7 separate regions of the Homo sapiens genome follow, and all the other regions are linked to region 2. Evidence: promoter capture Hi-C in 16 types of primary human blood cells and fetal thymus (Javierre and others, 2016). All regions are on one chromosome and are shown on one strand. The core of a region is centred on a gene start or on the middle of the fragment in contact, and the rest is flanking DNA. Distances in the headings are between cores, read along the strand shown.

Region 1 (3,347 bases), core at 528-3,027, 1.6 Mb before region 2:
TCCCTCCCCCTGCCAAAACACAACACACATACACACCCAGTTTAAGGAAACTTCACAGTGATTTTAAAAAAACAACAACAAAGATTTAAAAAATATAACGATGCTCAAGTTCACAAGTGATTTAGGAAACTTATAGTCTTATGTATTACTGGAATAAGGCGAGGAGTATACATTTGGAAGAACAGCCTGACAAAATTTACTGTAGCTCTCGGGCTCAAGTATATATAGGTCAAAGATGTATGGCACAGTGAAATGCTACAACCTAACAAGCCACAACAGAGGATCGAGTCATTAATTATGCGACAGCTATCAACAAGTCAACCAAGCCAAGAGGAAGCATCACAACAGATATTAATGTATCAACATAGAAAGATGCTGTAGGCAGAAAAACAGTAGATGATGAATGTGGTCTTGAAAAGGTTTTAAAATGCATTAACAAATTGAACCCTCATTCAAGCCTTCTTTAACTTGTACTTAGACATATTCTATCTGATCCATACACAGAAGTTGGAAATACTTTCTCACTTTGCAAAATGCAATTGTTCTTCTGAAAACTAAGACAGTTTCATTTAAATCAATATGATTTTGGTTTTTTGTGTTTTTTTTTTTAACAAAGGCTCTAATATGTAAAGATTTCTCTGGTTTTTGTTTGTTTGTTTGTTTGTTTTTTGAGACAGGTTTTGTGCTCTGTCTCCCAGGCTGGAGTGCAGTGGCGCGATCTCGGCTCACTGAAGCCTTGGCCTCCTAGGTTCAAGCAATTCTGCCTCAGTCTCCCAAGTAGCTGAGACTACAGGCACGCACCACTACGCTAGGCTAATTTTTTATTTTTGATAAAGACGGGGTTTCACCATGTTGGCCAGGCTGGTCTCAAACTCCTGGCCTCAAGTGATCCACCCACCTCAGCCTCCCAAGGTGCTGGGATTACAGGCGTGAGCTGCCAGGCCTGGCCCTAATATGTGAAGATTTCTTAAAGAGGTTTTACAACCAAGCTTTATATAACTTTCGCTTTCACTACCTATAAAATGAGGGAGATGGCCTAAATCATGATCAATAGCCCTAAATCACTACTGTTTCTCCTCCTAGTATCGATGTTTCCATTTATAGCTGCCAGACACTTAACCCAGAAACATACTGCTACAAAAGAAATATTTTAAGTATAAGCACTTCCTGAAAAAAACAAAATTTGGAGACATCAGCAAATGCTCACCTCACTCAAGACTCAAAAGGGAAACACAAGCCACAGTTCTGAAATCCAAAGAACATTTTACATGTACAGCAACTGGCAAAGCTATTCAGAAGCCTGAGAGGCCCCTCTTGAAATGACAAAACTAAGCTTTCACCCAGTAAATTCAAGTGGAAAACAACCAAATTTCTATTCGTAGAAAAACAGTTATAAATTATGGCACATCCAAACTACTGAATTCTGTAAAATGTAAGGCACTTATCCATATAAGGCACTTACCTCTGTGTCTAGTACAAATTAGATTCTCAAAATAATTACTGTCATTAACATTATAATTTCCAGATTCTCAGAATCTGGCACCTTTCTTGGTTCTACTATAGTATTCATATGCCAGCATTTCCAAACCTACTTTACTATGGATCCTTTCTCCACATACCTATCTACATGGCATTTGTTTCATGGAGTACATTTTGGGGAATGCCTCTCTATCTCAGACACAAGCTTCATGCATTGTCCATTGACCACCATTTGTCCAGGGCTGATCTCCCCCAAAAAATTGTGTGCTCCTTGAAAGCATGGACCGGTGTTGGCACATATTAGGTACTAAGTAAATGTCTGTAGAATAAATAACAACAAATGAAAGAAGGGGTTTGGTGCAAATGACTCTGAGGATCCCCTGAAGCTTTAAAGCCCAGGTTCTATCATTTATACTGGAACCAAAGGGTCTAAACTCCCAAATTTCACACTGCTAACCTTGAGGACTAACAGAAATCAATGAAAACCACCTGAGGGACTCCTAAGTGTTCCAAGTATGCAGACCACAGCCCATGGGCTCTCTAGGCTGGCTCGAGTTTAACCTTACTTCATTTTCAACACAGACCAATATACATCAAATGTGGCTCACAGTGGCCAGGCCCAGTGGCTCACACCATAATCCTAGCACTTTGGGAGGCCCAGGCGGGTGGATGGCCTGAGCCCAGGAGTTCAAGAGCAGCCTGGGCAACATGGTGGAACCCTAACTCTACAAAAAAATACAAAAAATTGACCAGGATTGGTGGCATGTGTCTGTGGTCCCTGCTACTAGGGAGGTTGAGGTGGGAGGACCACCTGAACCCAGGAAGTTGAGGCTGTAGAGAGCCATGATTGTGCCACTCCACCCCAGCCTGGGTGACACAGTGAGATCCTATCTCAAAAAAAAAGAGTAGTTTAATAGTCAAACATGTAAAATGACCCAGATACAATTCAAGGATCAGGAGACCTCATTTACAGACTACTCAAAAGCTGGTTTGTAAGGCCTCCACCCACTTTCTAGCTTGAAGAATGAGTCACAGCATGTGCCCTCTGGGGACACCCAGGAATTTGTAGGGCAAAGGTGACAATCTTTCCCCAAGGTGCCAGCCTAACTTCACTCTAATGTAAACAGGCATTTCTGAGGTTTCACAGGGGCTCAGGAACAAAGCATCCACTGCCCTGGATGTTCTCTGGCTCCAGCAAACCCTGGCACACCAGGCAAAAGGCTTCTTTCAGGCAGAGGAAACAAACAAGGCTTAAGAAAAGTGAGAGTGGATGGCATGGCCCTGAGAGATGAAAGCGCCTCTGTTTAGTTTACTGAATTCTGCCTAGAGAGCTGCAGGAAGGCAGGATTTTTCTTAGCAGAGGAGTGAGAAATTCTGCAACCAGGTCAATTTTTCAGCAAAAGAGGTGCCAGGAATAGTAGTAGGATAAAGTATACATGGAAGCTGAGCCTGGGGTGGGTGGCCCAGGTCCCCTGCCCCACTCTTCTCAACTCAATGATCAACAATTCCGGCCCCCAGTTTGTCAAGAGTACTTAACGCACGGTTGTTCAACGTTATGCCAGTTTGCTACTGAACTCAAATTTGCTGACAAAATACACGTGTGCAAGTTCCTAATATTTTCTCCCCGCTACCCTCAACCGATGTCATTTCTGTGACTCAGAACCTTAACTAAAACTCAAAGCTGTGTGACACTGAGGAAACTGTGTTATGTCCCTGGGCCTCAGACCCCTCATCTGGACAAGGAAGGGATCGAGCAACCTTCAACACACTGCCTTCCAGCTATACCACTCCAGGAAGTACAAAAGAGGGCAGGTGGAAATGCAGAAGGATTTGTGCACCCTGGTAAGTCCTTCTCCACTCCCTGGTGC
Region 2 (3,503 bases), core at 296-2,795:
AAGAAAAGAAAACTGCAAATCAATACCTCATAAACATAGATACAGAAATTCTAAATAAAATTTTAACAAATTAAATTCAATATATAGTACTAATAAAATAATAATACACCATGACGAAGTCGGTTTTATCCCACCGCAGAGTTGGTTTAATATTTGAAAGAAAAATCATGTAATTCACCACATTAACAAAGAGAGGCTGGGCACGGTGGCTCACGCCTGTAATCCCAGCACTTTGGGAAGCCAAGGTGGGGGAATCACGAGGTCAAGGGATCGAGACCATCCTGGCCAACATGGTGAAACCTGGTCTCTACTAAAAATACAAAAATTAGCTGGGTGTGGTGGCGCGTGCTTGTAGTCCCAGCTACTCGGGAGGCTGAGGCAGGAGAATCGCTTGAACCCCAGAGGTGGAGGGTGCAGTGAACCAGGATCGCGCCACTGCACTCCAGCCTGTCGATAGAGCAAGACTCCATCTCAAAAAAAAAAAAAAAAAAAAACCATATGGTCATCTAAATAGACACAGAAAAAGCAATTGTCAAAATCCAACATCCATTCCTATAAAAACTCTCACCAAAGTAGTACTAGAAGAGAATGCCTGATAAAGGACATTTACAAAACAAAACAAAACAAAAAAGCAAGAAACCTACAGTGAACATCAGTCTTCAGTGTGAAAGATTGAATGCTTTCACTTTAAAAGCATAAATAAGACAAAGATATCTGCTCTCACCACTTCTGTTCAATATTGAAATAATGCTTCTAGCCAGTGCAGTAAGGCAAGACAAAATAAAATAAAAGGCATCCAGACTGGAAAGAAAGGAGTAAAACTATCTTTACTCATAGATGACCTATGTAGAAAATACAATGGAATCTACAAAACAGTTACTAGAATTGCTATACTGAAGAAGTAAGTACTTCTCCAAGCCTGCGGACTAGGGTGAAAGGGGTCTTTATTGGATGTAATAATGCAGATTTCCACATTTCATAATTTTTATTTTTAAGCTGGCTTCAAATGCCAAATCCCAACCAATCCCCCCACACTCACTAGTTTTCTAGTCTTAATTTGGGCATTCTCACCTCTCCATCCCTCTCATAGTGACAGATGCACAATGGAAGCCACTGGCCTACACAACTCAAGATCTGAATGCAGAGGTGACACCTGCTCTCTCTTGACATCTAAAGGGTGGGAGGGAGGGAGAGGATGCTCACTCACCTGGCGCCAAGCGGTCTGGAACATGGCTGGCGTCCCAGCTTCACACACTGCCTCAGGGTTCGGAGAAGTGAAACTGAAGAGAAAATAAAGAAGCACCGGTGAGATTGATGCTGCCTCGCACCCCGCAAATGCCCTCTGTGCTACTTGGGCCCCTCTCCTTTCCGCCAACTCCTCACCCCAAAAAGCAAAGGGGTTGCAAAACCAGGCAGAACAAGCCCCAGGAAAACCAATCAGTTACCCGGACCGCGAACCTCTTCAGCTCGGACCGCGAATCCCGCGCGGCGCAGGCGCAGATAAAGCGTGGAAATTCCACCTGCCGCCGACACCGGGGAAAGCTTGAGACCCTCCGCCGGAAGTGCGTTTTCCATGCCCCTCCTCTCTAGGAACCTGGGAAGTTGCCAGTCTCTGTGGTTTCCTACCCCCGCCGTCAGCGCCAGTGTCCCTACTGCCTGAGACAACACGGGCCCGAGCGGGCGGCCCCAGGCAGGGGTCCTGCAGCGCCCACACCTGGTAGCTCCTTCGGGGCATGACGTCTGGCCAGCTCAGGCCACAGAATGGTTACTATCCTGGGTATTATTCGTGGTTATCTGGCATTTGCCACTCTGGGTGTCCTTCCAGATAATGAAGGGACCATCGCGCCCTTCACATGCGCCAAAACTGTCTGGATTGTGTGGGTGCGCTGCAGTGGGAAAAGTGGGTGTGGGGAAAGGCGAACCCATTACTCAGAAGGCCGAATGTGTATGGACTACGTAGGTCCAGAAACCCAGCTGCACCACTTGCTAGTTGTGTGACCTGCAGCAAGTTTCTTTGCCCCGGTTTCCTTGTCTATTAAATGGGTATTATGATGGTGGTACCAACCTCTTGAGGCTGTTCAGGGTTAATTCATTAAATTAGTTAATTGATAGGTAAATTATTTACAGTTGTGCCTGGCACATAGTATGTACTCGTGAGTTTGTATTGTTTTGTTTTCCAATTGTGTTTTTTGAAGACACAAAATAGGTGCTGCTGGGACTCCAATATGTGGCGTGCTTTAGGGAAATAGATTTTTTTAAGGACAATTTTCGAAGTTTAGCGAAAGAGCTATTAACATTTGGCTTAGAGCCCTTTCCTGCCCTGTACTGGGATGTGTGTCCCGGCCCAGCCTGGAAACAGATTTTAGTTATTCCTTCCACAGGAATTAGATTTATCCACCACTTTCAAAACAAGTCCTGCCATGGAGAGTATATTATGTATCTACTGCTGGATAATAAACTACTCTAATGCTTTGTGGCTAAAAACAATAAACATTGTTATCTTTTGACAGTTTCTGTGGACCCAGAATTCAAGAGCAGCTTGGCTGGGTGGTACTGGCTGAGGGTCTCTGCTGAGGTTGCAGTCAGGTGTCATGTGGGGCTGAAGTCATCTGAAGCTTGACTGAGTTTGGAGGATCCACCTCCAAGGTGGTTTACTCACATGGCTGTCAAGTGGGTGCTGGTTGTTGGCAGGAAGCGTCAGTTCCTTCCCATGTGAGGGTTTTCACAACATGGCATGTAGCTTTCTCCCAAAGTGAGCAATCCAAGAGGCCAAGGCCAAAGCTTTTATGACCTAGTTTTGGAAATCATGCATCATGATTTCCTCAATACATTCTCCTCAGATTAGTCATGATTCAGTGTGGGAAGAGATACACAAGGTTTGAATGCCAGGATATGAGAACCATTGGGAGCCATTGTGGGGCCACCTAGCACAGAGATTTTAACTGTCACAGAAACAGTTCATTTTATAAAATCTATAGTATTTTCACTTTAAAGTTTATGCACAGCACTTGTTTTAAATAATTAGATTTCCAGAAACAATGGCATGACAAGGACATACATGTGCATACTGTCCCTTCGCTAAACCTATTAAAATGAACATTTACCATGAGTGGGTGCACATAAACGTACATACATATACACCACAAATTCTAAACAGTATTAGCCAGTGGAAAAAAACATGATAAATTGGACTTAATCAAAGTTAAATCTTCTGCTTTTCAGAAGATACTTTTAGAGAATGAAAAGACAAGCCACAGACTGGGAGAAAATACCAAAAATATTTGATAAAAGACTTGTTTCCAAAATATATAAAGGACTCTCAAAACTCACTCATAAGAAAATAAACCAATTTTTAAAAATAGGCAAAAGATTTGAACAGATACTTCACCAAAGAAGATATATGGAAAGCAATTAAATATTTGAAAAGATGCTCAACATTGTTAGTCATTAGAGAAATGCAAATTAAAACCGCAGTGAAACAGTATTACACACTTACTAGAAAA
Region 3 (3,383 bases), core at 324-2,823, 1.5 Mb before region 2:
TCATCCACGTCCACTATCCCCAGGGTCCCCTGCACTGCAGCCACACTGGCCTTCTCACCAAGGCCTCTGCACTTGCTGTTTGCTCTGCCTGGGAAGCTTTTCCTCCATATGTTCCCATGGCTCAATCCCCATTCAATCTCTGCTCACCTATAACCTCCCTAAAGACACCTCTGCTGCCACCTCATTCTCTCCCCTAGTCACTACCTGGTATCATATCCTACATCTATTACTACATTGGGTCTCTTTGGTCTGCCCCCAGACCTGGACTGTCTCATTTACTGTCATAACTCAGTGCCTGGCCCAGGGAAGCCACACAGCTCACACTTAGCAATCACTGATCTAAGTGGGTCTCCAGCTCCCCATTCTGCCAGGAATCCCCTGACTCTAATCAAAGGTGATTCTTACCTGCGGAAGACCTGTAAAATCAGAGTGAACCATGTATTTCCGGAATAAACATAAACCACTCAGCAACTCTACTGGGGAGCAGCATGTAAACACGTGGCCCACGGCCTGGTGTTCCGGCACCTGTATCCACTAGTTTGTAAGAACAGAGGCTGTGGCCGGGGGTGGTGGCTCATGCCTGTAATCCCAGCACTTTGGGAGGCCAAGGCAGGTGGATCACCTGAGGTCGGGAGTTTGAGACCAGCCTGGCCAACATGATGAAACCCCGTCTCTACTAAAAATACAAAAAATCAGCTGGGCATGATAGCTGGCGCCTATAATCCCAGCTACTCAGGAGGCTAAGGCACAAGAATGGCTTGAACTCAGGAGGCGGAGGTTGCAGTGAGCCAAGATCGCACCACTGCACTCCAACCTGGGCAACGAGAGCGAAACTCCATCTCAAAAAAAAATAACAGAGTCTGCCATTGAGATAAAAGGCTTCCTACTTTATGATTCCCCTCCTTCAGATAAAATTAGAGAAGTGAAAAATGGTTGTTCCTGGTTTTCTTTCCCAGTCTCTGAATTCGCAGGGAAATAAACATATTAATAAATAATTAGTTACCCATTTCAGTACCTCTATTCTCATACTGGCCTCACTGTATAGTTTAGGTTTGGGGCTTTTTAAAAAATATTTTCTACAACTAAATAATGTTTAAAATACAAAAGTACTTTTTGAAAATAGATATATTTACTTTATTTTGAAGAAAAACGCCTGGATTAGAAAAGCTTTACTTTTTTTTTTTTTCAGATGGAGTCTTGCTCTGTCTCCCAGGCTAGAGGGCAGTGGCGTGATCTGGGCTCACTGCAAGCTCCACCTCCCGGGTTAACGCCATTCTCCTGCCTCAGCCTCCCGAGTAGCTGGGACTATAGGTGCCCGCCACCACACCTGGCTAATTTTTTGTATTTTTAGTAGAGACGGGGTTTCACTATGTTAGCCAAGATGGTCTCGATCTCCTGACCTCGTGATCCGCCCGTCTCGGCCTCCCAAAGTGCTGGGATTACAGGCGTGAGCCACCACGCCCGGCCAAAAAGCTTTTCTGAAAATGTACTTCTGACAGTTGTGGCCATTATTAGAGTAAGATATGCCACTAATGTATGCACATATTATCTCATTATTTTTGAAATAAAAATGATGGGGTAATTAATTTTGTGCTTAGCTATAAAATTAGTGTAAATATATCAAAATATCAAATTTGAAATAAACAGTAGGAAACAACTATAATGAAGCTTGCATCATTCTGAGATTTTATTAAAGAGTATACATTGAGGTTACATTCACATAAGAGCCCATTTCCTGTAGAAAGTCAGTCTACCAGAGCAGTTATTTAAGTAAATTTGATATTGATTATACCCTATAACTCCAAGCTAAGACATGGGTTACTATAAATATGAGGGGAGAAGGAGGGTCTACACATGGAAGCTTACTGACAAAAGTTGATCACTGGCCAGGCGCAGTGGCTCACGCCTGTAATCCCAGCACTTTGGGAGGCCGAGGCAGGCAGATCACCTGAGGTCGGGAGTTCAAGACCAGCCTGGCCAACATGGTGAAATTCCATCTCTACTAAAAATACAAAAATTAGCCAGGCGTGGTGGCACGTGCCTGTAGTCTCAGCTACTCGGGAGGCTGAGGCAGGAGAATCACTTGAACCTGGGAGGCAGAGGTTGCAGTGAGCTGAGATCATGCCACTGCACTCTAGCCTGGGCAACAGAGTGAGACTCTGTCTCAAAAAAAAAAAAAAAAAAGAGATCACTGATCTCTTTGATCACTGAGATCCAGGATAACAGCTGCAGAAGAGGTGATTAGCCAAACAAACAACACACAAATTGGTATGTAAAAATAATCGGTGCCCTGGCTAGCTTATCAGTCCATTGAGGTAAAAGCGATCCTGTACAAAAACTACCACTGTGCCAGAGGAGTGAAGAGGCAGCAAGCTAACCACGCAATTCAAAACAGGCTCTTGTCAAAAAAATTCTCTAGTATATGATCACCCTGAGACTTACCCACATTTCTTATACTTTCTATGAAATGCTAAGGCTCACTTTTAATCTAAAATAGACAAACTTTCTTCATGTGCCTCTGAGTCCTCTTCTAGTTTCACAAAGGATTAAATAAAAAGGGCCTCAAAGGACAAAAGAAGGAAGTATAGAAAGGAGGGATGGAGGGAGAGACAGGGAGAATGAGAATACAGAAAAATAGAGGAAAGCAAGAAAGAGACAGAGGGAGAAAGATAAACGGAGAAAGAAGAAAGAACAAACAGCAGAGAGAGAAACAAAGAAACAGAGACAGAGGAAGAAAGAAAAGAAAAAAGTTCATGGGAAAAAAATAGTGATGCATTTCATGGAAAAGCTATTTGTTAAAGAGTCCCTCTTTTTTCTGTGTACAGTATCATGCCATATGTGGGAAGTGAACAAGGCTGGAACACCGCCTAAGAACATCTGCCACGGACTTTAAAAGCCCTAATAATAGCACAGCTGGTGTCCCCAGCCTAATGAGCTCACCACCCACGTGACTGCTCCTTCTCCAGCAGATTCTCCAGAGAGAGAAGGCAGCCAGCAAGAGAAGCAGTCCCCGCCCCCGCCCTCCCCCACATTCATGCTTTATTTCCTCCACGGCTTTCATTCTCCCCTTCCAGAAACCACCCCTTCTCATTTTCTTGAGCTAAGTTACCCTGATCCAGCAGTCCTTTGAACAGACACATTCTTCTTTTCTCCTTCCCCTCTCCCTTTGAACAGACACATTCTTAACATGAAAGGCAAATACCAGAAATAAAATATGGGGACATCACTACAGGTCTTATGGACATTGAAAGAGTAATAATTGTGCCAATTAATTCAGTAGCTTAGATAAAGTGGATAAAGCCCTTAAAATACACAACTTATCAAAATTAATGTAAGAAGATATAAATAACCCTATACTTATTTTTAAAATGGAATTCCAAATG
Region 4 (3,398 bases), core at 470-2,969, 1.6 Mb before region 2:
AGCATCCTCTGGCTCCTTGGGCCACCTCCCCCTCTCATTTCCTCCCATTTGCCTTTAAAAATCCTTGCTCGCTTGAGACTCAGGCCATCCAGCTGGGTTACCCCCGCCTATGCCCACTCGTCCACCCATCAGCAACTCCGCCCCGGTAGAGGTTGGCGGCCGTCCTCTCCACCGAGTGCAGCCACTCATCCAGGCTGCCACTGCCACCCCTACACCTGACACCACCTGACTCCCCAGCTCTCAAGTCTGGGACCTCCACGGCCCTCCTATCACATGCCACTTCTGCCAGCCACACCCGGGCCACCTCTGAAATCTGGAATTTAGATACCCCCTCCCTGACTGCAACCCCCTTCCCCCACAGCTCTCCCTCAGTTATCCCCGCTATTCCATGGAGACCCCCAGCCCCTCAATTCCTCTGCATGGCCTCTACCGCCCACTTCCTGTCCAGCTGGAATCCCCCAGCCCTTTGGCTCCAGCAACGCTGGTGCCTAAGGCTCGGCCTCCCTCACTCTCGTGGGACTTTCACGGCACCCATACAGCAAAACCCAATTCTGGATGAAACCACCTGTCCATCTTGCTCTCCCTGCAACTGGGCTCCAAGGGGTACACTGTGGACTCCCATGCTCAAAAGGCCCACCCTGCTAGGCGCTCCTTCTTTTCCAACACCATGATAGAAGGTAGCAGAGTAGGAAGTGAGCCTGGACCAGATAAGGCCTCAAAAGGGCAGTAAATTTGTAAATTAGGGCAAAACCACCTTCTAGGCAGCTTCCAGTCACCCCAAAGGGTGAGCTGGCTGGAGCTCTCTGTTCTCTTTCTCCCTCCCTCTCTCCCGCAGGTCAGGTTCCCTCCACAGAACTCACGGTCTTCAGCCTTCCTGCTTCACGTTATTGATATCCTCACCTCTTCCTTCCCATTTAACTCCAGCTAATAATTCAAAAGACTTACTGCACACTCACAACCTGCAGACTCAACTGGGAAAGGGTCAGTTGACCACAGGCCCAACCTCCCTTCCTCCATGTGCTGGAAAAGCACAAAAGAACATTAACCCAGTACGACCCGTGAAGTGCCTGCTGCCTGTACTTAAGAAGCTCTACTGAATGCTGCAAAGCTTCTAAAGGCGTCACCAACCTAGATCCACCTCAGCTGTATAATTATTAAAAAGAAAAAAAAAGAAAGCCATTGTTTCTTCAAGGAAGAGGAGGTGGAGAGAAGCAGAGAAAGGAGGGGAGTGGGGATGGAGGAAGAGAAGAAAGGAGACAGCAAGGGGAAGGACAGATATCAGGGTGAGGAGGAGGGGAGGGGAGAGGAAACAGACAGAAAGTGGGTAAGGAGAGATGGAGGAGAGAAGAGGGTGAGAAGAAAAAAAATGAAACGAAGGGAGGAAAGGAAAACTTAAAGGTCCTCCAAGATACTCCTCCGGAAATAGAAACATCACTGGACCCTGGTGTTCACATAGTTGTCAGTATCACAGCAGTTTACAAGGTGAGACCTCCACAACCCTTCCCAGAGCACACTCTGATGGACCAACCTATCAGTATGTGTTTGGTCTGTTTTCTAAGGCAGATGTCTGGGAAATTTAAAAACTCAAATCATAAACTGTGTGGTGAGTCCTTGATATAAAGTTCAGGTACGCCCAGCAGGTGCCGCATGGTATTCAAAATCCAGAATTCGAAATCCAAGCCTACCAGGCAGTGATGTGCTACATGAGGGATGGAAAGGAAAGTATAAAAATAGGATATAAATAGTAATTAGAATTTTGGAGGCAATCACTCCATGAGCTAAAAGTAGAAACTGTTAAGCATTTATCTCAGATCACAGAAAAGACAATAAAAATTCCTCCAGGAAATACCGAAAATGCTCAGCCTCTACACACTGAGGAACGTAAATCAAGATCAGGGGCTGCTGCCGTTTATACACCTCAGCTGGCAAAGAGCAAATGTGCTCATACCAGGGGTGCAGACAGTGAGCGCCCACACACTTCTCCCACATCGTCTGAACACACACCATATACAACCTCTATGACTCACTCCATCAAATTACAGTCCCCAGCCTAGGAATTCACACAAGTACATTCATTACTTATTTGTTTAAATATGTGGGAACATGGCTATCCCCAACCCAGTGGTATTTGCAGAATACTGGAAACAATCTACTTGTCTTACAATAGGGAATTAATTAAATCAATCGTGGGATTTATAGACAATGAAAAATAGGCAGCCAGCAAAAAGAATATGATGGATGTATGCTAAGTGGAAAGGTCTCCAATATAGATTACTGAGGAGAAAAGGCAACAATATGTTTAGTATATGTTCCCGTGTGTAGAAAGCTTTCAAAGCAGGGGAGGGGACATACATACCATACAAACGCATGCACAGAACATTTTTGGAAAGATAAGCAACAGTCATTCCCTTGGGAGGAAAGGCAGAGGTCTGGGAATAAGATGAAGGTGGAAAACCTCAAAGTGTATTCTTTAAACTGTATGCATTTTTCTTGTTGCACACTGTTTAAGCCAATGCTTCTAAGAGTGAGTAGGAATGGTGCTTGAGGCACCATTTAAAATGCAAGAACTGAAAACAACTTACAGCACCCATCAATGGGGGCTGCTGCAGTGGTTCTGTCTTGGACCCTTGAGTAGCCAGCATGCTTCACTGCCTTTGTGGCTGCCCCCTTCACAGCAATTCTACCTGCAGGGGCAGGGCCTAATTGCTCATTATGTGTTCTAATGAGGCCACGTCCCCTCAGCGACATTTGAAATACAAGCTATGTCATTTTTCTTTAGTTTCTCCTTTATAGTACGGTAAGGCATTATACTGATTCTTTTAAAATTATGTGTTTGGCCATGCGCGGTGGCTCACGCCTGTAATCCCAGCACTTTGGGAGGTCGAGGCGGGCAGATCACTTGAGGACACGAGTTCGAGACCAGCCTGGCCAACATGGCGAATCCCCATCTCTACTAAAAACACAAAAAACTAGCCGAGTGTAGTGGCACACATCTATAGTCCCAGCTACTCAGGAGGCTGAGGCAGGAGAATCACTTGAACCCGGGAGGCAGAGGTTGCAGTGAGCTGAGATCACACTACTACACTCCAGCCTGAGCAACAGAGCAAGACTCCATCTCAAAAAAAGATAGAAATAAAATAAATAAAATTATGTTTTTAAGAGGATTCGTTATCTATGAATTTCATTTAAGGGTAACAAAAAAATGAATTACAAAATGCTTCTTCTAAAAAGAAATATTAGGTATTCCAGGACTGAGAGCTGCTGAGTTTTCCTAGCCTGTTCAGGCTGCTAGAGCAAAATACCATAAACTGGTGGCTTGTCAACAACAAACATTTATTTCTCCCAGCTTTGGGGACTGACAAGTCCAAGATAAAGGCACCACCAAATGTCTGGTAAGG
Region 5 (3,222 bases), core at 693-3,192, 1.5 Mb before region 2:
GAGCAAAACTCTGTCTCAAAAAAAAAAAAAAAAAAAATGCTGGCACGGTGGCTCATGCCTGTAATCCCAGCACTTTGGGAAGCCAAGGTGGGCAAATCGCGAGGTCAGGAGTTTGAGACCAGCCTGACCAACATGGTGAAACCCTGTCTCTACTAAAAATACAAAAAAATTAGCTGGGCGTGGAGGCAGGCGCCTGCAATCCCAGCTACTTGGGAGGCTGAGGCAGGAGAATCGCTTGCACCCGGGAGGCAGAGGTTGCAGTGAGCCGAGATAGCACCACTGCACTCCAGCCCAGGTGACAGTGCGAGACCCTGTCTCAAAATAATAATAATAATAGGGCTGGGTGTGGTGGCTCACACCTGTAATCCCAGCACTTTGGGAGGCCAAGGTGGGCAGATCACGAGGTCAAGAGGTAGAGACCATCCTGGCTAACATGGTGAAACCCCGTCTTTACTAAAAATACGAAAATTAGCCAGGCATGGTGGCATGCGCCTATAGTCCCAGCTACTCAGGAGGCTGAGACAGGAGAATCACTTGAACTCAGGAGGCAGAGGTTGCAGTGAGCTGAGATCGTGTCACTGCACTCCAGCCTGGGTGACCAAGTGAGACTCCGACTCAAAAAAAAATGAATAAAAATTAATAATAATAATAATCCGAATAAAAAGGCTAAAAGACCACATGCAAAACACAGTGATGCAAGATGAACCTGGAGTATCTTGTAATGCCAGGAAGTAAAGACATACTAAAACAAAAACTAAACCCACAATCATGGGGTTTATGTCAAAGGGGCATGGGAGTCAACTGAAAAAGTTTCCAGTGGCCAAAGCTGGAAGAATTTGAGCAACAAAATAAATAAAGTAGTATTGGATTATAACTCAAAGTACAAAATAAATATCCATGAATCCATGTTGACATAAATACATAAATGAATAAATACATGGGGAAGAAGAAAAAAAATCTCCCATACAGAAGAATTCCAAATAAAGTATGTAGAACTCCACTTCTAACAGATGGAGCATAACTCCCACTCTGTCTGTGTGGGCTGTGCTTAGTGACTTCCTTCAAAAGAGTACAGTATGGCTTGGGCATCGTGGCTCATGCCTGTAATCCCAGCACTTTGGGAGGCCAAGGTGGGCAGATCACCTGAGGTCAGGCGTTCGAGACCAGCCTGGCCAACATGGCAAAACCCTGTCTCTGCTAAAAATACAAAAATTAGCCGGGTATGGTGGTGCACACCTGTAGTCCCAGCTACTCGGGAGGCTGAGGCAGAAGACAGGAGAATCACTTGATCCCGGGAGATGAAGGTTGCAGTGAGCTGGGATTGCGCCACTGCACTCCAGAGTGAGACTCTGTTTCAAAAACAAACAAACAAAAAAAGAGTACCTTCACAGTGGAGACAGTTGACAAACACTTCCTCAGGCAGTGAGGTGATCAAGATTGACTCAACAGTAATAAGTCATGCCAATAGTATGTTCCCTTAGTAGTATGTGATGGGAATGGCACTTTATCTCCTTTATCTCCATGCTCCTCCTCCCCAAAACCAATAGCCCCAGTCTGGTTATGAGAAAAAGATCAGACAAATACCAATTAAGTGACAGTCTAAAAATACCTGATCAGCAATTCTCAAAATTGAAAGGTCATCAGAAACTAGGAAAGTATGAAAGACTGTCAGAGGCAGAACCCAAAGAGACAAGATGATTAAATGTAATGGGGTATCCTGGATGGGATCCTGGAACAGAAAAAGGACATTCAGTAACAACTAAGTAAATATGAACAAAATGAGGACTATCATTAATAACAAGCATCAGTATATGTTCATTAATTATGACAAATGTACCATACTAATGTAAGAGGTTAATAGTAGGGGAAACTGGGCGTGGGGCATATGGAGACAATTTGTATTATCTTTTTAATTTTTCTGTGAATCTAAAATTATTCTAATATAAAAGGTTTATTTTAAAAATAGTGATAAACATTGAAACCAGTATGATTTAAAGTTTAAATAATTTGGCCAGGCATGGTGGCTCACACCTGTAATCCCAGCACTTTGGGAGGTCAAGGCTGATGGATCACTTGAGGTCAGGGGTTTGAGACCAGCCTGACCAACATGGTGAAACTCTGTCTCTACTAAAAATGTAAAAATTAGCTGGGCGTGGTGGCACATGCCTGTAGTACCAGCTACTCCAGAGGCAGAGGTGAGAGAATCACTTGAACCCGGGAGGCAGAGGCTGCAGTGAGCCAAGATCATGCCATTGCACTCCAGCCTGGGCAACAGAAGGAGACTCCATCTCAAAAAATAAAATAAAATAAAATAAAATAAAGTTTAAATAATTTGTTCCTCATAGTATAGTGGTTAAATATTTTTAAAAGAAAAAGTTTAAATAATTTGTAATATGATGAAGATAGTTAATGAATTGGTTACTAAAGAAATGTTTAAGTATAAAAAGTAAATATAATTTCAAGTTAAAATATGCTATTTCTACAAAATCTGGGAAGTCATAGGAGAAGGAAGAGGATGGAGAAACGAGGTAAATTGAGAGGTTTCACCCGGGCGTGGAGGCTCATGCTTGCAATCCCAGCACTTTGGGAGGCCAAGGCGGACAGATCACTTGAGGCCAGGAGTTCGAGACCGGCCTGGGCAACATGGCAAAACCCTGTCTCTACCAAAAATACAAAAATTAGCCAGGTGTGGTGGTGCGTACCTATAGTCCCAGCTACTCGGGAGGCCGAGATGGGAGGATCGATTGAGGCCTGGAGGTCGAGGCTACAGTGAGCTATGATTGTGCCACTGAACTCCAGCCTGGGTAACAGAGCAAGAACCTCTATAACTAACTAACTAACTAACTAACTAACTAACTAAATAAATAAATAAATAAATAAATAAATGTAGGTTTCATCCTGTGCTGTGTATAGTTTTTATGGAGAAATATAATTTTTTTAGATATTAGGTGTTAACTGAAATTGTTATAGGACACCTAAATCAATAGAGGAGAAACTGATAAAGCATAATATAGTCAAAACATGAAATATGACAAGAATAAGGCCAATGAGTTATCAATGGTTATAGTAAATATTAAAAGGTTAAATTCTCCTTTAGAAAGAGAAGGCTTGAGACCGGGAGTGGTGGATCACACCTGTAATCCCAGCATTTTGGGAGGCCGAGGCAGGTGGATCACAAGGTCAGGAGATCAAGACCATCCTGGCTATCACACTGAAACCCCA
Region 6 (3,391 bases), core at 380-2,879, 1.4 Mb before region 2:
GACCTAATCGCCTCCTAAAGGTTCCACCTCCTAATACCACCACAGTGGACATTAGGTTTCAATGTGAATTTTAGAGGGACACATTCAGACCACAACAGTAAAGGTCCAACTTCTCTCTTTTACATGTGGATATCCAGTTTTCTCAGCACCATTTGTTGAAAAGACTGCCCTTTCCTCATTGAATAGTTTTGGAATACTTATTGGAAGTCATTTGACCATATGTGTGAGGGTTTATTTCTGGGCTCCTTATTCTATACTGTTGGTCTATATTTCCATCTTTATGCCAGTACTATACTGTTTTTATTATTGTAGCTTTGTAGTAAGCTTTGGAATCAGGAAGTGTGTGTTTTCCAGCTTTTTTTTTTTTTTCTTTTAAGATTGTTTTGGCCGTTTGACATACCTTGAGATTCTATATGAATTTTCGGATAGATTTTTCTAGTCCCACAAAAATAGTTGTTGGGATTTTGATAAGAATTGCATTGAATGCATACATTGCTTTGGATAGATTGATTTTGGGTAGTATTTGAATGTTAATTATTAATATCTGAAAATTGCCTTCTAATTCATAAACACGTGATATTTTCCCACTTATTTGTGTCTTTTTTTTTTTTTTTTTTTTTTTTGAGACGAAGCCTCGCTCTGTCCTCCAGGCTGGAGTGCAGTGACACAATCTCGGCTTACTGTAAGCTCCGCCTCCCGGGGTTCACGCCATTCTCCTGCCTCAGCCTCTTGAGTAGCTGGGACTACAGGCGCCCGCCACCATGCCCAGCTAATTTTTTGTATTTTTAGTAGAGATGAGGTTTCACCGTGTTAGCCAGGATGGTCTCCATCTCCTGACCTCGTGATCTGCCCGCTTCGGCCTCCCAAAGTGCTGGGATTACAGGTGTGAGCCACCGTGCCCAGCCTATTTATGTCTTTTAAAAATTTCTTTCAGAAGTTTTTTGTAGTTTTTGTTGTGTAAGTCTTTCCACCTGTTTGGTTAATTCCTATGTGTTTTATTCTTTTTGCTGCTATTATAAATGAAGTTGTTTTCTTGATTTCCTTTTTCGATTGTACATTTGTTAATGTATAGAAATTCCCCCTGGACATTGTGGCTCACACCTGTAATCCCAGCACTTGGAGAGACCGAGGCAGGCGAATTGCTTGAGCTCAGGAGTTTGAGACCAGCCTGGGCAACATGGTGAAAATGTGTCCCTGCAAAAGATACAAAAATTAGCTGGGAGTGGGCCAGGCGCGGTGGCTCATGTCTGTAATCCCAGTACTTTTGGAGGCTGAGGTGGGCGGATCACTTGAGGCCTGGAGTTCAAGACCAGCCTGTCCAACACGGTGAAACCCTGTCTCTACTAAAAATACAAAAAAATCAGCCGGGCATGGTGGCACATGCCTGTAGTCACAGCTACTTGGGAGGCTGAGGCAGGAGAATCACTTGAACTCAGGAGGTGGAGGTTGCAGTGAGCCAAGATTGCACCACTGCACTCCAGCCTGGGCAACAAGGCGAGACTCCGTCTCAAAAATTAGCCGGGGGTGGTGGCATGCACCTGAGGTCCCAGCTGCTTGGGAAGGTGAGGTGGGAGGATTGTTTGAGCCTGGATGGCAGGGGTCGCAGTGAGCCATGATTGTGCCACTGTGCTCCAACCTGAGTGACAGACTGAGACCTTGTCTCAAAAAAAAAAAAAGAAAAATAAAAATAGAGTTTTGCCAGTACCTGCATCAATCAAAACTCATCAGACCGTGCCAGGTGTGGTGGCTCATGCCTATAATCCCAGCACTTTGAGAGACCAAGGTGGGTAGATCACTTGAGCCCAGAAGTTCAGGACCAGCCTGGGCAACATGGTGAAACCTTGTCTCTAGAAAAAATAGAAAAATTAGCCAGGCATAGTGGTGTGTGCTTTACTCTCAGCTACTTGGGAGGTTGAGACAGGAGGATTGCTTCAGCCCTGGAGGTCGAGGTTGCAGTGAGCCGCGATCATGCCACTGCACTCCCGCCTGGGCGACAGAGACACTGTCTCAAAAAAAAAGAAAGAAAAAAAAAAAGGCAGGTGTGGTGGCTCACACTTGTAATCCCAGCACTTTGAGTGGCCGAGGAGGGGGCAGATCACTTGAGGTCAGGAGTTCGAGACCAGCCTGGCCAACATGGTGAAACCCTGTCTCTACTAAAAATATAAAAATTAGCCAGGTGTGGTGGTGGGCATCTGTAATCCCAGCTACTTGGGAGGCTGAGGCAGGAGAATCGCATGAACCTGGAAGGCAGAGGTTGCAGTGAGCTGAGATCGTGTAATTGCGCTCCAGCCTGGGCAACAAGAGTGAAATGCTGTCTCAAAAAAAAAAAAAAAAATTCCGCTAATCTTTAAGTGTTGGACCTGGACTTTGTATTTTACTTTGCAAAATTTGTTTTTGTTTTGACAGTTTATTTTATGGAAACTTTACTTTTTGTGTGTGTGTGTGTGTGTGTCTGTGTGTGTGACAGAGTCTCAAAGTCTATCCAGGCAGGAGTTCAGTGGTGTGATCTTGGCACACTGCAACCTTTGCCTCCCAGGTTCAAACGATTCTCCTGCCTCAGCCTCCCGAGTAGCTGCGATTTCAGGTGCCTGCCACCACGCCTGGCTAATTTTTTTGTATTTTTAGTAGAGACGGGGTTTCACCATGTTGGCCAGGCTGGTCTCGAACTCCTGACCTCAGGTGATTTGCCCACCTTGGCCTCCAAAAGTGCTGGGATTACGGGCCTGAACCACCACGCCTGGCCTTAGGGTTTTCTACATATAAAATCAATCACATCATTTGCAAACAGAGTTAATTTTACTTTTTTCCTTTCCAATTTGGATGCCTTTTTTTTTCTTGTGTAATTGCTCTGGCTAGGACTTTTTATACCTTCTTGACTAGAAGTGGAGAAAGCAGACATTCTTGCCTACTTCTTAATGTTAGAGGAAAAGCTTTACTCTTTCACCATTGAGTATGTTGTTTGCTTTGGGTTTTTCATATATGACTTTTATTATGTTGAGATAGTTTCCTTCTATTCCTAGCTTTTGGAGTTTTTTTTTTTTTTTTAAAGGTTGTTGAATTTTGCCAAGTGCATTTTCTGTATTAATTGAGATGATCATGCGTTTTTTTCCCCTTCATAATGTGGTATATTACATTTTCGTATGTTCAACCATCTTTTGTTTTCCAGGAATAAACCCACTTGGTTATCGTGCATAATCCTTTTAATATACTGCTGAATTCAATTTGCTTGCATTTTGTTGACATATCTAGCTTTTACTAAGATAATAAGATATTTAGCATAGTGCCTGACACTTAATAAACACTCTTTCTTTTTTTTGAGACAGAGTCCAGACTCTTTCGTCCAGGCTGGAGTGCAGTGGTGCGATCTTGGCTCACTGCAACCTCTGCCTCC
Region 7 (3,150 bases), core at 518-3,017, 1.6 Mb before region 2:
TTTTTAAAATTAGCCAGACATAGTGGTGCATGCCTATAGTCCCAGCTACTCAGGAAGCTGAGGGGGAGATTCACTTGAGCCTGGGAGGTTGAGGCTACGGCAAGCCATGATCGCACCACTGCACTCCAGCCTGGGCAACAGAACAAGACCCTGTCTCAAAAGGAAAAAAAAAAAGTTCCCTGAAGTCCAAAGCCTACTTATATCATACGTATGTATATTTGTGTGTATACATATACATACAAATATATACACGCATGCATACACACCTGGATTTATTTTAAATTCAGTAAATTAGCACTTTATCTTTAAAAAAATTGCAGCACAGAGCAGATGGTAAAGAGTAAATCTCTTAAGATACACATTTTTTCACATTTCAATATCTCTAAAATTGAATTTTGTCTTATAGCCAATCGTCCTTTACTATGCTTACTTTGTAGCATTTTTTGCTTTCTTAGAGGTACATAAAGCAATGGCGTATCTTACGATCTGTTGTGTGTGGGGGTGGGAGCTCAGCGCAACAATTCAAATGGGCCACCAAACAATGGGCAAGGCCCACAATGGACATTAAAGGGAGATCCCTGCATCAGCCAGGAGGTAGGACAGGTTGACTTTAAAGGTTCCCTCCAGGCCAGGCATGGTGGCTCATGCCTGTAATCCCAGCACTTTGAGAGGCCGAGGCAGGCAGATCGTCCAAGGTCAGGTGTTCAAGACCAGACCAGCCAACATGGTGAAACCTCGTCTCTACCAAAAATACATTAAAAAATAAGCTGGGCGTTGTGGCGGGGGCGCCTGTAATCCCAGCTACTGGGGAGGCTGAGGCAGGAGAATTGCTTGAACCCGGGAGGCAGAGGTTGCAGTGAGCTGAGATCACACCACTGCACTCCAGCCTGGGCAACAAGAGTGAGACTCTGTCTCAAAAAATAAATAAATTAAATTAAATTTAAAAATAAAGGTTCCCTCCAGTCCTCAGTTATCATAATAAAGATGAACATGATAAAATGAAATTTAAAGGCAAAAGCATACTTACAAACAAACCTTGTCTTCGTCAATCTCCACAACTGCCAAGGTACATGAGTATTATCTATATTTTAAAGATGAGGAGGTTCCAAGGAGTATTTTACCCAGAAGCCGGCCACAAGTCTCACTTCCCAATGAAATGCCCACTGTGGCAGAGCAGTAAGAGAAGCAGCAGCCAAACCAGAAGAGCTTAAAGGTGGCAAAAATAACCCAACCAAGGGGCGAAGGGCAAACCTGGGTAGCAGTAAAGGAGGAAATGATATTTGAGTTCAGCTTTACAAGGAAGCTCACTGAATGACATGTTCAGGTTTACAGGCATTTAAAATGAAAACGCCTTTCAGTTGGTTGTATTTTCTGGTTCCTTCAAATACTTAAGAATAAAAGCACAAACTGATTAACATGGTGTGGGCCACGTGTCAGGTGAACCAGGGTGAGTTCTCCAGGTTACAGGACACTTGATGGAGGAGAGACATGTGGCCTGCCCAAGATGCAAATGAGACAGAGCCAACCCCAGAATCTAAGTTCGTCTGCTCCCTTTCTGCTTGGCCACACACAGCAGGTCAGTGCTCGCCTTCCAGCAGGTTCTCCTCAGATCACAAGATGAGAGCAGCAGATACAGCATCACCAGCAAACATAACAAAACCTCCCCAGGAAACTGCAGCCCACTTGTTCTGATCCCAATCGGCCCAGTCACAACTACAGCAAAGGGAATGGGGCCACTGTGATTGGCCTGGACCAATCAATACCCACTGGACGCCTCCTCAACCCCTACTCCAGCATGCTGCAAAGGAGGCTTAAGAATGGAATGAAATCTGGATTCTATTAGGAAAGAAGAAAGTGTGGCAGAGATGGATGTGAATTGGCAATCAATTTCTGTTACTCCCATCATTCACCCTTCATTCCTTCCCTTCTTCCTTCATTCAAGAAGCAGGACCGTGAACCTACTGTCAGTCTTTGTGGAGAAAACAATTGCACAAAACTGGATTCCAGCCCTCCAGGAGCTCATGGTCCATCCATATTTACATAAGAATATTCCATTTTCCTTGGTATCCAAAGTAGCACTGGACAGCCCAGGTGGTCTAAACAGCAAAGAGTAATTTAGAGTGCCTTTAATTACTGCACCTTAAAATGCACCAGTGTCCTAGTTCCCATCTTCATGATCACTGCCAGCCAGGAGGTTGCTGGATCTCAATCGGCCAAAGTGGCAGAAGGTGCCCTTCACCAGGTCCCTGTTCTATTCATGGCAGCTGTGCACGGCTCAGGTTACAGGTTGGTTCAAATCCACAGAAAACTGGCTCCTCTAACTGAGGCAATTTTGGTACTTTACTTTGTCTCTCACACAAGATTTTTATTTTTAAAATCCTAATATTGGAAATAGAAATGTTGAGCTAAAAGGTATTAAGAAGGATGTAGAATAGCCTATTATTACAATCGGGGCAGAAAAAAGGACTGTGAATTCAAAAATATACAAGCACTCAATATTGTATCCTAACATGGCATACATTTAAAGGTTAAGATATGAAAAATGCATACTTTTATGTTGCACTTGGGACAATATTAAAAAGTGGAAATTTTAACCTTTCTTCTAGATTTCTGGGTAAACAAAAGAATGTTTTTAATTTCAAAATTTCTAATAATTCTCCAGGGTAAAATAATCTCTTTAATAATCAGCTAATAACTTTGCTCAATATAATTTTAAAATCAATTATATAAAATATTTCTGCTTCTGTTGAAATGTTTTTAACATCTGTTATCCAATAATTATTTCAATAATAATTTCAAAAGTCAACAAGCACATGAAAAAATGCTCAACATCATTAACCATCAGGAAAATGCAAATCAAAACCATAATGAGATACCACTTCATACCCACAAGGATTTCTATAATCAAAAAGACAGATAATAACAAGCATTGGCAAGGACATGGACAAACCAGAACCCTCACTCACTGCTGGTGGGAATGTAAAATAGCGCAGCCACTTTGGAAAACAGTCTGGCAATTTATCAAAATGTTAAATACAGAGTTACCACATGATCTAGCAATTCCTCTCATAGGTATCAACATAAAGAAATGAAAACAAATGTCCACAATAAAAAAAAGTCTACAGATGTTCACAGCAACATTATTCACAA

Evidence for each region. Contacts are between HindIII fragments. The CHiCAGO score rates a contact against its expected background, and 5 or more counts as called.
Region 1: a contact is called between a fragment that was not itself captured here and the fragment with the promoter of ZNF620 in region 2, in 3 of 17 cell types (activated CD4 T cells, total CD8 T cells and naive B cells). The highest score is 8.2, in activated CD4 T cells.
Region 3: a contact is called between a fragment that was not itself captured here and the fragment with the promoter of ZNF620 in region 2, in 6 of 17 cell types (activated CD4 T cells, naive CD8 T cells, total B cells and 3 more). The highest score is 9.0, in activated CD4 T cells.
Region 4: a contact is called between a fragment that was not itself captured here and the fragment with the promoter of ZNF620 in region 2, in 2 of 17 cell types (M0 macrophages and total CD4 T cells). The highest score is 6.3, in M0 macrophages.
Region 5: a contact is called between a fragment that was not itself captured here and the fragment with the promoter of ZNF620 in region 2, in 1 of 17 cell types (total CD4 T cells). The highest score is 5.4, in total CD4 T cells.
Region 6: a fragment that was not itself captured here is called in contact with the fragment with the promoter of ZNF620 in region 2 in 2 of 17 cell types (non-activated CD4 T cells and naive CD4 T cells); the score reaches 6.3 in non-activated CD4 T cells.
Region 7: a contact is called between a fragment that was not itself captured here and the fragment with the promoter of ZNF620 in region 2, in 1 of 17 cell types (fetal thymus). The highest score is 5.1, in fetal thymus.

The regions. Positions count from the first base shown.
Region 1 is chr3:42,079,919-42,083,265 of GRCh38, reverse strand. It overlaps a transcript of TRAK1 not described here. Among named protein-coding and RNA genes, the nearest start is that of TRAK1, 9.8 kb to the left of the region's middle. The HindIII fragment of the contact is 181 bases long and covers 1,687-1,867 here.
Region 2 is chr3:40,504,081-40,507,583 of GRCh38, reverse strand. ZNF620 (zinc finger protein 620) reads right to left here and starts at 1,545. Exons shown (of 5, transcript NM_175888.4): 1 at 1,446-1,545; 2 at 1,208-1,280. The coding sequence starts at 1,231. The HindIII fragment of the contact is 1,073 bases long and covers 1,545-2,617 here.
Region 3 is chr3:42,025,326-42,028,708 of GRCh38, reverse strand. It overlaps a transcript of TRAK1 not described here. Among named protein-coding and RNA genes, the nearest start is that of TRAK1, 64 kb to the left of the region's middle. The HindIII fragment of the contact is 195 bases long and covers 1,476-1,670 here.
Region 4 is chr3:42,095,991-42,099,388 of GRCh38, reverse strand. The region is part of intron 1 of TRAK1 (trafficking kinesin protein 1); the gene reads right to left. Among named protein-coding and RNA genes, the nearest start is that of TRAK1, 6.3 kb to the right of the region's middle. RefSeq lists an enhancer at 451-1,273. The HindIII fragment of the contact is 1,218 bases long and covers 1,111-2,328 here.
Region 5 is chr3:41,993,171-41,996,392 of GRCh38, reverse strand. No RefSeq gene overlaps it. Among named protein-coding and RNA genes, the nearest start is that of ULK4, 33 kb to the right of the region's middle. The HindIII fragment of the contact is 8,427 bases long and covers 1-3,222 here.
Region 6 is chr3:41,948,377-41,951,767 of GRCh38, reverse strand. The region is part of intron 2 of ULK4 (unc-51 like kinase 4); the gene reads left to right. Among named protein-coding and RNA genes, the nearest start is that of ULK4, 12 kb to the left of the region's middle. The HindIII fragment of the contact is 2,606 bases long and covers 327-2,932 here.
Region 7 is chr3:42,056,120-42,059,269 of GRCh38, reverse strand. It overlaps a transcript of TRAK1 not described here. Among named protein-coding and RNA genes, the nearest start is that of TRAK1, 34 kb to the left of the region's middle. RefSeq lists an enhancer at 1,638-1,747. The HindIII fragment of the contact is 4,315 bases long and covers 1-3,150 here.